Regions from separate parts of the Homo sapiens genome. Here all the other regions are linked to region 2. The links are contacts of gene promoters, found by promoter capture Hi-C in blood cells and fetal thymus (Javierre and others, 2016). All regions are on one chromosome and are shown on one strand. Each heading gives the region's core, a stretch centred on a gene start or on the middle of the fragment in contact. The rest is flanking DNA. Distances are from core to core; before and after follow the strand shown.

Region 1 (4,643 bases), core at 891-3,390, 170 kb after region 2:
GCTCACGCCTGTAATCCCAGCACTTTGGGAGGCCGAGGCGGGCGGATCACGAGGTCAGGAGATCAAGACCATCATAGCTAACATGGTGAAACCCCGTCTCTACTAAAAATACAAAAAGTTAGCCGGGCGTGGAGGCGGGCGCCTGTAGTCCCAGCTACTTGGGAGCTGAGGCAGGAGAAGGGCGTGAACCCGGGAGGCGGAGCTTGCAGTGAGCCGACATCGAGCCACTGCACTCCAGCCTGGGTGACAGAGCGAGACTCCGTCTCAAAAATAAATAAATAAATAAATAAGTAAAAATTAAAAAAAAACTTTTCGTCCTTGGGAGTTCTCCATCTGTCGGTCCTTCATTTTCGACGCTCCTGCATTCCTTCACCCGGTTGTTTTGGAGATACCACGTTGGGCGCCAGATGGTGGGGTCCAGCCTCAACACTACCCGTGGGTACCTGAAGTCCGGTGGCGACAAAGGAATGAGAAAAGACAAGTTAAGATTTTAAAGCAGGCCCAGGGGGCCAGTTGCTAGAGTGAAGGCTGCAAAACGCCCAGAGTTCTGGTTGCCTGACGATTTATTGAGCACAATCTTTTGATCTAAGAAGCAGCTGGGATGAAACGGTGAAGGAGCGGGAGCGTACGTCATTGGAAAGATGTAGAGCAGTGGCGGTTATATGAATTTCCTTTAAGCTAAAAGCATATGTCTAACTGCTAAGACAGTCTTTAACTTATCGGGCTGCAGCTGGTGGGGGCCGGTTTTACAAGGAGCTAGGATGTCTGGTCACGTTCCAACACTTCAAGGGAGTGTGTCAGCCCAGAGCATTCTGTGTAAAGCCGCAGAGCAGGTCATGCCCTCTGGCCTGGGAACTTAATGGCTTGCGGAGATGATTCTCCTAAGGGCCCCCTACAGTTTTCCATAGGTGTCCTACACAGGGGTGACTGACTAAACTGGCACCCCATAAACCTTTCCACCAGCACTTTTGTTTCAGGCTGCTGGCTCTGGTGAGCTCTTCTTTTTTGTTTTGTTTTATTTATTTATTTATTTATTTATTTACTTTATTTTTTTTGAGACACAGTCTCGCTGTCTCCCAGGCTGGAGTGCAGTGGCGTGATCTCAGCTCACTGCAAGCTCCACCTCCCAGGTTCAGGCCATTCTCCTGCCTCAGCCTCCGGAACAGCTGGGACTACAGGTGCCCACCAGCACGCCCAGCTAATTTTTTGTATTTTTAGTAGAGACGGGGTTTCACCATGTTAGCCAGGATGGTCTTGATCTCCTGACCTCGTGATCCACCCGCCTCAGCCTCCCAAAGTGCTGGGATTACAGGTGTGAGCCACCGCGCCTGGCCTCATTTATTTGTTTTTTAGATGGAGTCTCACTCTGTCACCCAGGCTGGAGTGCAGTGGCACAATCTCAGCTCACTGCATCCTCCACCTCCCAGGTTCAAGGGATTCTCGTGCCTCAGCCTCCCTGGTAGCTGGGATTATAGGTGTGTGTCACCATGCCCGGCTAGTTTTGTATTTAAAAATAGGCAGGATTAAAAAGTAGGTGGGGTTGATCCAACCATTATCTACATGATTGAACCCCACCTTCAGCCCCTTCCCCTTCCTGGAGGTCAGGTGGCTAAAAATCCCAACCTTGGTGGTTGGTGTTTCTGGCATGACCAGCCCCCATCCTGAGTCACCTCCTTGGTATAAGCTCAGTTATGGTCCAGGGCCCCCATGAATAATAAAGACGCTTCTTTTTTTTTTTTATTTCCATAGGTTTGGGGGAACATGTATTTGGTTACATGATTAAATTCCTTAGTGGTGATTCATGAGAGTTTGGTGCACCCATCTCCCAAGCAGTATACACTGCACCTAATTTGTAGTATTCTATCCGTCAGCTTTCCACCCTTTCCCCTTGAGCCCCCAAAATCCACTGTGTCATTCTTATGCCTTTGCATCCTCATAGCTTAGCTCCCACTTATGAGTGAGAGTATACAATGTTTGGTTTTCCATTCCTGAGTTCCTTCACTTAGAATAATGGTCTCCAGTCCCATCCAGGTTGCTGCAAATCCCATTAATTCATTCCGTTTCATGGCTGAGTAGTATTCCATTTTATATGTATGCCACAGTTTCTTCACCCATTCGTTGACTGATGGAAATTTAGGTTTGTTCCACGTTTTTGCACTTGCGAATTGTGCTGCTATAAACATGTGTGAACAAGTATCTTTTTTGTATCATGACTTCTTTTCCTCTGGATAGATACCCAGTAGTGGGATTGCTGGCTCAAATGGTAGTTTTACTTTTAGTTCTTTAAGGAATCTCCACGCTGTTTTCCATAGTGGTTGTACTAGTTTACATTCCCACCAGCAGTGTAAAAGTGTTCCCTGTTTGCCACATCCACACCAACATCTATTATTTTTTGAGTCTTTGATTATGGCCATTCTTGCAGGAGTAAGGTGGTATCACATTGTGGTTTTGATTTGCATCTCCCTGATCATTAGTGATGTTGAGCATTTTTCCATATGTTTGTTGGCCATTAAGACACTTCTATTACTTGGAAAATTCCAAGAGTTTAGACGCCCCCTGCCAGGAACCAGAGGTAGTGACTAGACAGATTATTTAGCACACAATATCTTTCTATCTTAAAATCGCAATCATATCTGCAAAGTCTCTTTTTGCCATATAAGGTGACATTCATAGGATCCAGGGATTAGGACTTGGATATCTTTTTTTTTTTTTTTTTTGAGAAGGAGTTTCACTCTTGTTGCCCAGGTTGGAGTGCAATGGCATGATCTCAACTCACTGCAACCTCCACCTCCCAGGTTCAAGTGATTCTCCTGTCTCAGCCTCCTGAGTAGCTGGGATTACAGACATGCACCACCACACCTGGCTAACTTTGTATTTTTAGTAGAGACAGAGTTTCACCATCTTGGTCAGGCCGGTCTCGAACTCCCGACCTCAGGTGATCCGCCCGCCTCAGCCTCCCAAACTGCTGGGATTACACATGTGAGCCACCATGCCTGGCCAGGACTTGGATATCTTTGCAGGCCATCATGCATCCTAGCTCAAAGAGTAACTAGCTGAGAAAGACTCCCAGGTGGGGGATGGAAGTCGAAATGCGTACCTGGTGGCCTAACTGCTTGCTGAGCTGGGTTAAGTGGCAATTTGGAAGATCCACAGACAGATCTAGTCTAACTTACTGATGATCAAGTGGAGATCTCTGACTCACTGAACAGCAACAGAGACGAACTGACAGGATTGACTTCCAGGCTGACTGACAACCTCAACGGCAGAGCCTCTTCCAGGTTGTAGTGACAAATGTACAATGGAAGCACAGGTGGACAGGAGAAGCCCAGGAGTCTCTTCCTGGGGGTGGAGCTGAGTAAGTACCGGCTGTGGCTGGGGCAGAAGGAAGAGGCCCCCAGGTTAAGCTGGAACTTCCCCAGGATCCTGTCCATGGCTCACGCATGCCCTCGAGCCCCTGGTACTCCAGGCTTAGATGCTGGGGCAGCAGGGCTGGAGGGAACCTCAGGGCAGGAGCCCAGAGAGCCAAATAACTGGATTCAAAGGGTCCATCCTCCCTTCACCATTGGCCTCAGGCATACCTGATCAATGCACAGGTCCCAGCTTGCAGTCTCCTGGCTCTAACTGGCTGGTGTTAGAGCAGATCCATAAAGACCCCAAATAAGAGAGTCAGGACCAAATTGTCCTCCCTGGCCCTTGGCCCCAGCCCACCCCCCTGCCCCACTCCCCAACACACAAGAGTCAACCTTCCAGGGAAGAAAGGAATCCCTGGAGCCTATCCCTCATCCTAGAACAGATATTCAGTCAGCTTTTATGGTCCTGGAATATTGGTCTTGCTAGAAAGACTATTCTAAATGCCAACAGCTGGCCGAGTGTGATGGCTCATGCCTGTAATCCCAACACTTTGGAAAGCTAAAGTCAGTGGATCACTTGAGCCCAGGGGCTCAAGCTCAGCCTGGGCAACATAGTGAGACCCTGTCACTATAAAAATAGTTTTTTTTGAGGTGGAGTCTCGCTCTGTCGCCCAGGCTGGAGTGCAATGGCGTGATCTCGGCTTACTGCAACCTCTGCCTCCTGGGTTCAAGCGATTCTCCTGCCTCAGCCTCTTGAGTAGCTGGGATTACAGGCACACCCCACCACACCTGGCTAATTTTTGTATTTTTAGTAGAGACAGGGTTTCACCATGTTGGTCAGGCTGGTTTCGAACTCCTGACCTCAGGTGATCCACCTGTCTCAGCCTCCCAAAGTGCTGGGATTACAGGCATGAGCCACTGTGCCAGGCCTGTTAAATGACTTTTCTAAACTACTTCTGTAAAGTCTATATTCTCTGTCATGGCTACTGAAGTCTTTGCTCAGTTAGCTTCATGGTTAGCTAGTGGTTGGACAGAGATTTCCTTGAATGTCTGGAATCGGAAGTCTGCCAGTCTTTGCCAGGGAGCTCTGTGTACTTATTAGGGACACACCTTCAACATTCACCCAGGAAATTTACAACTGTGCTTTAGCTCTCACTTCCTGCTTACACAGAGCCTCGAAGTCGGCCAGCGGTGTGAGCTTAGGGCTGTCTCAGGTCTTTCCTAAGCATGTGGCCTTCCATATCCCCAGAAATATGTCAGAATTTTTCAAAAGTCCCTCCGAACATCTAATGT
Region 2 (4,527 bases), core at 833-3,332:
ATTCTTTTATCAGTTTTTGGGGGCCGAGTGAGACCCAGGATGCCTCAGGCCCTCAGGGGGCTTGTGTCGGGGGCTGGGGGCTGCTGTTCCGACGGAAGCCGAGAGCGGTCGGGTCCTGAGGGGTGAGCAGGGGTTGGGGACTGAGGGTCCCAGCTCGTTTCTGTGCTCCGTCCTGTGGATGAAGAGGGGTCAGCCAGGGGGAGGGCTCAAGGGCAGTGCCGGCCACAGGTGGCGAACAATGGAGAGAGGGTGCAGGTAGCCACCGTGTCCCACCTCATTGTGAGCACTGGTCTATGTTTACCCTCAATATCTGCCATTTAGGGTGGCATTTGAGTGTGAGGTGGCAGGTCTTGGGGCCCTCGCTGGGATCTTGATCAGAACCCAAGCTTCGTGTATGTGTGAAGTCAACAGATGTGAGTATACAGATGTATATATCCTATGTGTGAGCTTACGTGACTTCCTCCCTGGGATACTTTCCTAGGAAGGGGTCCTATTTTCTCCCTTTGGCCTCCCCAGAACCTTCAGACTTGGGGGCAGGAGCCACAAGTTCCAGCCATGGGTCTTACACTAGCATGGCCCCTGTATAACCTTGGGCCCCTCTAGCCACTGCCTGGGCCTTGGTCCTCCCATCTGAAGTCAGGGCAGCGGATGGACAGAGATGGGGCAGGCCCTGTTCCCTCCTGGCTGGGGTGGAGGGCAGGATCGGAGAGCACTGCCTGGCGGGTTTCTCCTCGACATCGCCAGAACATCACCTACCTTGGACCCCACGGGCTGGAAGCCGGGCAGGCTGCTGACTGTCACACGTTGGTCATCCATGCGGCGGCCCTGGGTACTGGCCAGCATGTCCATGAGGCTGTCCATCTCGGGGGTGGGGTCGCTCTCTGCGTGGACGTTCACAGACTTGGGAGGACACAGCCGGAGTGGGGGCCCCCAACCCTACCCCTTCACCCCCACACAGATGCTTCAGGGTGCACAACCACCTCCCACATCCCGTGCCCCCAGGCCCTCCAGATGACCACTTGCCCTGCACTCCCACCCCGTTCACGCCCCATGGACAGCACCCCCGTGCCCATGCTCACGGCTCTTGGTGGTCTGGCCCGGCCCGGCTTGCAGTGAACAGCGCTGTCCCTCCATCCGGTCGCCCTGCACGTGGCTCAGCAGATTGAAGAAGCCCTCCTGGTCTGGGGAGCCCGCCTGGGGACAGACTCGCTCAGTCTGGTTGGCCCTTCAGCTTGGGGGCCCCTCCCCAAACTTCCTAGCCAGCTTGCTCACACCCTGACCCCGGGGCCTGCCGTCCCCACTTCCTCAGCTCTCACCATGGTCCCCGCCGATCCTCTCTGCAGAGCTGTTCTGAATGAGACATGAGTCTCCTTCCCAATCCCGGCCCCCGCCCCAGGGGCCCTGGCCAGCAGTGCCACTTCACGTGGTACCGCTTCAAGGGACAGGCTCCGATGCGTGTCCCGCCGTCCTAGATTGGGGCCTGATGAGTGTGGCCTGGGAGCTGGGACACGAATCAGGGAAACATGGCCCAGGAGCTACCCCCAGGTCCCAGCATCTCCCATCAATAGGGGTCCACACGGAGAGCCCTGCCCTCTGCCCTGGGGCCTGGCACTCAGACCCCCAAGCCCACCAGCCCCTTTCTACAGCCACAACTGGGTCAGGGGGTCCTAGGAGACTCACTCGTTAATTAGGTGCCCTACAAACTAGTCTTGTCAATCATGGGCTCTGAGACCTTGAGCTGGGGGTGGGGTGGGGGCAGGGCCCTCTCACCTCGGCACAGGGGCCTGAGCCTTCCTCCGTCTTCTCCTCCTGATCCATCATGTCCCTGGACTCCAGTCACTTTTCTGCTGGCCTCTGCCCCGGCCCAGTGCCAGAGAGGGCCTTTTAAACGTCCAGGACGTGGGGGTGTGGATTCCCCCCATCCCCAAATCCCCAGCTCATGCCCCATCTGCTCCCACCCAAGCTTAAGCCCCATAAAGATCATCCAGATAATTGTTTGCCCACAACGATGCTGGATCTGGCATGGTGGGTAGGGGGCAGGGCGACCTGAGCTTGGACCTCGCTGTGCCCAGCAGCAATGACTGGACCCCAGGGACTCTCAGGTGTGATGTCACAAAAGGCCTGAGCAGCATCCCCACAGTTGGAGAAGGGAGGCCAACAGTGTAGGGTGGTAGCTGGCTTAGGGAGGACTTGCAGGTGTCCCCACCCAGCCACCCAGGTTCCCCCACTGGCTCCTGAAAGGGCAGCTGCCACCTGCAGTCGGTACAGAAAAAGGAGGTTGGAGTCAAAGGCCCCTTCCCTCCCTCCCTCTCTGCACCTGCCTCAGACACCACCGGCCACCCTAGCTCCAGCTCTGTCTCCTTGGCAGCAAGTCAAGGGGTCTCCCAGCCACCCTTCCTTCAACTCACTGTCCCTGGAGCCTGGTTGCCTGCCCCAGACCCCAAAACAAGAAAGTCTGGGGTCTCCTGTTCCCACACCACCTAAATGCCAGGTTGAGCTATCTCCTCTCCTCTATCACCCTAGCCCCAGGTGGGAACAGGAGGCGAGACTCCCTGGGGACAGAGGCAGGCGGGGAGAGGACGTCCCTGCCTTTTCCCCCGAGCCACTGTGGCTTTCCCTCAGTGCCCAAGCAGGGGATACCACTGGGAGGTCCCCATCCCCTTCCCTTCCCTCCCCAAGACGCCTTTACGGAAACCAGTGGAAGTTTCATCTCAGAATGAATGGGCTGCACTATCACCACCTCTGCCCGAGCCTCCTCTGTTCCACAAAAGGCCAAGTTCACACTCTCTCCCTCTATGCCAATGAAGTGTCCCCCTCCTCAGTACGTGTATCCCTTTCCTAGGCCTGCCAGAACAAAGTGTCATAGACCAGATGGCTTAAAACACATAAGTTGACTTTTGTTATATATTTTTATATAGAGATGAGGTCTCACTATTTTGCCCAGGCTAGTCTCAAACTCCTGGGTTCATGTGATCCTCCTGCCTGGGCCTCCCAAAGTGCTGGGATTACAGGCATGAGCCACCATGCTGAGCCTTTAAAATTTTTTTTTAACAAATTTATTGAGCCAACGTTCCAGAGGCCACAGCCTGAAATGAAGGTGTTGGCAGAGCTGTGCTCCCTCTGAAAACCAGGTCTCAGGAGCCCTCCTTGCCCCTCCCTGGCTTTTGGCAGTGGCCTGCCGTCCTTGATGTCCTTGGCTTGTCACTGCAGCTCTTCACTCCCTGCCTCCGTGGTCACATGGCATTCTCCCTCTGTGTCCCAGTCTTCATATACCCATTTCCCCACCCCCCCAACCACCTACACAGAACCAGGCAGACATATAACTATCTTACAAGGACACCAGTGATATTGCATTAGGGGCCTACTCTACTCCAGTGTGACCTCATGCTCACTGCTAATATCTATACTAACCCCATTTCAAATAAGATCCTATTGTGGGGTATTGGGGATTAGTACTTCATATCTTTTGGGGGTTAGTGGTGGGGTGGCTGGCCCTAACAGCTCTCTGTCCCCCCAAGGGGTCAGGCTGAGAAGCTGGAGGCGGTCCTGGCTTCCATCCCCCCAGGATCTGGAGGGTTCCCCGCCTTCCCCTGCTCAAAACTCTTGAGAAGACAAAACCCAAACACCTAGGGGTTGTGGAAATGTTCTAAAATGGATTGTGGTAATGGACACACAACTCCAAAAATACTGAAAGCCATTGACTTACGCACCTTAGGTCAGCGAGTTGTATGGTATGTGAATTATATCTCAGTAAAGCTGTTACAAAAGGAGGAAGGGGCAGGGTGCGGTGGCTCATACCTAAAATCCTAACACTTTGGGAGGCCAAGGCAGGAGGATCCCTTGAGCCCAGGAGTTTGATACCAGCCTGGGCAACATAGGGAGATCCTGTCTCTTAACAACAACAACAAAATCAACCGGGCACGGTGGCGTGCACCTGTAGTCCCAGCTACTTGGGTGGCCGAAGTGGAAGAATCCCTTGAGCTCAGGAAGTCGAGGCTGCAGTGAGCTATGATCGTGCCACTGCCCTCCAGCCTGAGCAACAGAGCGAGACCCGTCTCTTTACAAAACAAAAACAAACAAAAATGGGGAGGAGGGAGAAGAAGGAAGAAAGGAAGGGAAAAGGAAAGGAAAGGAAGAAATAGCTCAAACTCCTACCTACGGTTGCCAACCGTCCTGGTTTGCCTGTGACTGTCCTATTTTTAGCACTGAAAGTCCTGCATCCTGGCACTGGGATGGGTCAGTCTGACCTTGTCCTACAGAAGTCTGGCCCCTGCTGCCCCCACCCTCCAGCCTTCTTAAGCTCGGGGCTCCTCCCTTCTCTACCTGGACATGCTGTGTGGCTGCTTCTAGAATCCATTTAGGGATAATGTCAAAAGGCTGCTTCTTCAGAGAGGCCCTCGGGGGTCATCCTCAGTAAAGTCCCCTCCCACCCCTACCTTCTGTGGCACTTGTTGTCACATTAGTTTATTTCCTTTAGGGCAGCATGGATCCTTTCCTATCTCCCCCAGACCTTCGGGTCTGATTCAC
Region 3 (4,798 bases), core at 2,187-4,686, 190 kb after region 2:
TGTATAACAAATCTGCACATCCCACACATATACCCCTGAACTTAAAGTTTAAAAAAAATCACATCATTACTCTTTAAAAAAAAAAAAAGAAAGAAAGAAAGAAAAAGAAAAAGGGTTGTCACTTCTGCCTTCATCTGCTCCCTCTAACCCTCTGATGGCTGCCCCACCTGCCACCACTTTCCTGAAATGACCAAGGAGAGTAACTACCGTTCCTTTGTGAAAGCCAACCAGACTTGTTTCTATCTTGTTTCCACTCATTAATGGGGTGGCCACTCCCTCCCTCCTCCTTGAAACTCCTCTCTCCCAAGACTTCCCTGATGGCCTCACCTCCTGGTTCTCCTCCTGTCTGCCTGACCGCTCCTTCTCCATCTCCTTCATGGGCTCCTCTTCTGCCTGCCCTCAAAATGTCCCTGTCATTTACAAGTCTTTACTATCCAAATTCACTCCTGCTACTGGGAAGGCAAGAAGGAAAGACAGTCACAGCTGGACTGTCTTTCAAGTTTCTCCAGAGCTGGAGCCAGTGAGGTTACACTGGGTAGCAAAGTCAGAGGAAGGAGCCAAGGCAGGAACTAAGTGAGAAACCAACCAAGTTCCAATCAGCCAAGAGTGAAAGTCCAAACTGGTTGTAGAAACTAAATGGCCATGGCTGGGTGCAGCGGCTCATGCCTGTAATCCCAGCACTTTGGGAGGCCAAGGCGAGTGGATCTCTTGAGTTTAGGAGTTTGAGACCAGCCTGGGGAACATGGTGAAACCTCATCTCTACTAAAAATACAAAAATTAGCTAGGCATGGTGGTGCATGCCTGTAGTTCCAGCTACTCAGGAGGCTGAGGTGGAAGGATGGCTTGAGCCTGGGAGGTGGAGGTTGCAGCAAGCTAAGATTGTGCCACTGTACTCCAGCCTGTGTGACACCATGAGGCCCTGTCTCAAAAAAAAAAGAAAAAAGAAAGAAACTAAATGGCCACAAGGTAGGGTATGGAGACAACCAGGGTGAGCCCATAAAACTATCTGGGCCTGGTGCCTTTCTTCTTATTAGATCTCTAATTACCTTCTTTTCAGCTGTTTTCAAATTGCCAAAGCATCCACAAAGTTGCCAGATCTAGTCAGCCTGCAAGCTGACCACAGATGGGCTCCTATAATATCTAATCTGTTCAGGTTTCCTATTTCAGATGATTTGTATCACTCTGTGATTAATTTCCAAATTATTACTATGTTTGTTTCAACTCCGCCTCCCCCCACCCCACACCTAATAGTTATTGATTGCCACAAACAAATTGCCACAAATGGCCCAGCTTAAACAACATACATTTATTATTTTATAGTTTTTATGGGTCAGGAATCTGGGCATGACTTGCCTGGATCCTTTGCCTGGGGTCTCTCATAAGACGGCAATCAAGGAGATGGCCAGGATTAAGGTTTCATCTGAAGGCTCAACTGGGGAAGGATTCACTTCCTAGCTCACTCATGTGACTGTTGGCAGAATCAGTTCCTTTTGTGCTGTTGGGCAAATTATCTCAGTTCCTAGCTGGCTGTTGGCCAGAGGACACCCTCAGCTTATTGCCACATGGGTTTCTCCAACATAGCAACTTGCTTCATCAAAGCCATCAAGGGGAAAAGTCTGCTAGCAAGATAGAAGTCAGAATATTTTGGAATATAATCTCAGAAGTGACAGTTTCTCAATGATGAAGTATTCTATTGGTTAGAAGCAAGATAATCACCAGTAGAGGATCACAGAAGGCCATGAATACTAGGAGGTGGGGACCATTTCAGAAGCTACTTACTACACCCCACCAGCATATAAATATATAAGTCTATTAGAGCAGGAACACTTTGGTTCATGTTAACCATCACTTCTCCAGTGTTTTAATGAGTGAATGGAGGCTGGGCATAGTGGCTCACACCTGTAATCCCAGCACTTTGGGAGGCTGAGGCAGGTGGATCACCTGAGGTCAGGAGTTCAAGACCAGCCTGGGCAACATGGTGAAACCCTGTCTCTATTAAAAATACAAAAATTAGCCAGACATGGTGGCGTGCACCTGTAATCCCAGCTACTCAGGAGGCTGAGACACAAGAATCACTTGAACCTAGGAGGCAGAGGTTGCAGTGAGCTGAGATCATGCCATTACACTCCAGCCTGTGTGACAGAGTGAGACTCTGTCTCAAAAAACAAACTGAAAAAAGAGTGAATGGCATATAGTAGGTGATAAATTAATATTGGTGAAATGAAAGATTCAATGGGGTAAGCTATGTGGTCTTAGAGTGGAATAGCTAGAGATTGCTTCAATTCAACAATTTTTTATTACGTTCAGGAATTCTATTCACAGAATAGTCAAGGAGCAGTGGATGGGTGTAATTGTCATGACAGGTAAAACCAGGGGTGATAAACTGTGGGGTGAACACAGACATAGAAGAGTCACTGGATAAATCTGCTGGCTTGCATCACTGTGTAGGGGTCCTGGATGTGGTCGGCCAATATTAGGCTTAGTGAGTATGCTTGTAGGCATACACCTACAAGGATGTATCAGTTCGCTATTGCTGCATAACAAAATGCTCCCAAAATTAATGGCTTGGGCTAATAATTTATTTGGTACATGATTGTGTGGTTCACCAATTTGGGTCAGATTCAGCTGGAAAGTTCTTCTGGGTATAGCTGGGCTCATTTATGCATCTGTGGTCAGCTGATGGATTGGCTAAATCTGGCTACTCTTGAATGCTTTGGCAACTTGAAAATGTAGCTGAAAATACTTTAACAAAGCTCTTCTTGAGAGGCAAACTCACTATCCCCTCCCCTTGAATCTGAGCAGGCTTGGATTGCTTCAACCAATAGAGTAGAGCAGAAGTGATATTATATAACCTCCAAGGCTAGATCATAACACATCATGCAAGCTTCTGTCTTGTTTGCAGGAAGATTCACTTCCAGAGCCTTGAGACAACATGTAAAAAGTTCAACTACCCTGAGACTGCAGTGATGGAGATGTCATGTGGAGAGACCACATGGAAAGTCCCTGAAGCTACAGGAGGAGAGCGAGAGAGAGAGAGAAAGAGATCGATCCCCCAAGAGACTTCAATCATTTGAGTCATCCCAGCCCAGGAACCAGACATGTGAATGAAGAAGCTACCAGATAATCCCAGCCACCAGATACCAGCTCCCAGCCACTGGAGGCACTCCCCCACTCTTCAAGTCTCCCCACCTTAAGCCCTAGATGTCATGGATCAGAGACAAACCATCCCCACTATGCCCTGTCCAAACTTCAGACCCACAAAAACCATGAGCATATTAAAAATGATTGCTGTTTTATGCCACTGAGTTCTCGGATGGTTTCTTACACAGCAATCGAAAACTGGAACACGGCTGGGTGCAGTGGCTCATGACTGTAATCCCGGCACTTTGGGAGGCTGAGACAGGTGGATCACCTGAGGTCAGGAGTTCAAGACCAGCCTGGCCAACATGGTGAAACCCCATCTCTACTAAAAAAAATACAAAAAATTAGCCAGGCGTGGTGGCGTGAGCCTGTAATCCCAGCTACTTGGGAGGCTGAGGCAGCAGAATTGCTTGAACCCGGGAGGCAGAGATGGCATTGAGCCAAGACCACACCATTGCACTCTAGCCTGGGCAATGAGACAGAAGCTGCATCTCAAAAAAAAAAAAGAAAGAAAGAAAGAAAAAAGAAAAGAAGAAAGGAAACTGGAACAGATAACCTCACTCACAGCTGGAGGTTGGTCGGCTGACAGTTTAGGCCATGAGGGTGACTGAGCCATGTGCCTCTCACCTTTCAGGCTACCTCTGGCTTGTTCACATGATGGTTAAGAGTGGCAAGATCAGTGCAAAATGACAAAGTAGACAGTTCCAAGCCCGCGTTCCCCACAGAAACATCAAAAAACAAGCAGAAACTGTCAGATACAACTTTGTCAGAACTCTGGGAAACAGTCAAAGGTTTACGGTAGTCCAGTGAATGCTGAATCAAGAAGAAAGACAACTTCAAAATGATCAAAAGCTTTTGATATTTCGACTTGCGTTTGCCCCACTTGCCACTGCCCTCCCTTGTGTGACAGCAGTAGTGGGAAGAGGGAAGCCCACACTCCCAGCATGAGACTCTCATTCCTCCTTCCAGAGGGAGCAGAGCAGACTTTATTTGTAGATGATAGTGTATGTCCGCTCTAAGCTGTCTGGGAGCCACCTGAAGGACAAGGTGCTCATCTCTGGTCTTCCTGCCTCGGAACTCAGGCTGGAAAAGTGGTGGCACTGCTCAAAAACACTGCAAGCCAAACTAACAAACCACAGATGTCTGTTCCAAAGATTACAATCAAAACACACAATAGACGGCCTAAGGCTCAGGAGCAAAAGCTGGGGAGAGTTTCCTGGGGAAATTAGAAGCACCTGCATGCATAGGGGGATTTATAAACACAGGGTTATGCCCACAGCAAGATGCATGCTCAGAAAAGACCTGAGAAGACCCTAAGTTATGCTCAGCTGATCCCTAGGCTCAGGGCAAGCTGGGTTAAATGTTGAAAGAGTGCTCCAGCACAGGGCCAATCTGCAAAGACTGAGCGAGGGAAAGATTTTTTGTTTGGTTGGTTTGCTTGCTTTTTTAGCTCCTGGTATTCAAGAAAATCTGTCAAAACACTAGCTGAACACAAGCTAAGGAATAGAGACTTCAGTGACCACATGCGACAAGTAATATAGTCTTTGCAAGAATAGTTTTGGAAAGTCATTAAGCCAAAACTACTACGGTCTTTAACAATAAAACAAACAACAAACCAGCAAACCCTGGGACAGTGGGAGAATCTGACATCCAAATT

What was found. The method cuts DNA at HindIII sites, captures the fragments that hold promoters and counts their contacts. A CHiCAGO score of 5 or more calls a contact.
Region 1: a fragment that was not itself captured here is called in contact with the fragment with the promoter of PCP2 in region 2 in 1 of 17 cell types (neutrophils); the score reaches 6.3 in neutrophils.
Region 3: a contact is called between a fragment that was not itself captured here and the fragment with the promoter of PCP2 in region 2, in 1 of 17 cell types (monocytes). The highest score is 5.2, in monocytes.

What each region holds. Positions count from the first base shown.
Region 1 is chr19:7,800,639-7,805,281 of GRCh38, forward strand. All of the region lies in intron 1 of LOC124904628 (a long non-coding RNA gene), which reads left to right. Among named protein-coding and RNA genes, the nearest start is that of EVI5L, 27 kb to the right of the region's middle. The HindIII fragment of the contact is 7,100 bases long and covers 1-4,643 here.
Region 2 is chr19:7,631,637-7,636,163 of GRCh38, forward strand. PCP2 (Purkinje cell protein 2) reads right to left here and starts at 2,083. Exons shown (of 4, transcript NM_174895.3): 1 at 1,771-2,083; 2 at 1,080-1,194; 3 at 757-881; 4 at 1-172. The coding sequence starts at 1,821. The coding sequence ends at 53. It overlaps PET100 (PET100 cytochrome c oxidase chaperone), which reads left to right. Exons shown (of 4, transcript NM_001171155.2): 4 at 1-320. It also overlaps a transcript of STXBP2 not described here. The HindIII fragment of the contact is 15,856 bases long and covers 1,962-4,527 here.
Region 3 is chr19:7,816,481-7,821,278 of GRCh38, forward strand. It overlaps LOC124904628 (a long non-coding RNA gene), which reads left to right. Exons shown (of 2, transcript XR_007067118.1): 2 at 2,903-4,798. Among named protein-coding and RNA genes, the nearest start is that of EVI5L, 11 kb to the right of the region's middle. RefSeq lists an enhancer at 2,903-3,142. The HindIII fragment of the contact is 1,109 bases long and covers 2,883-3,991 here.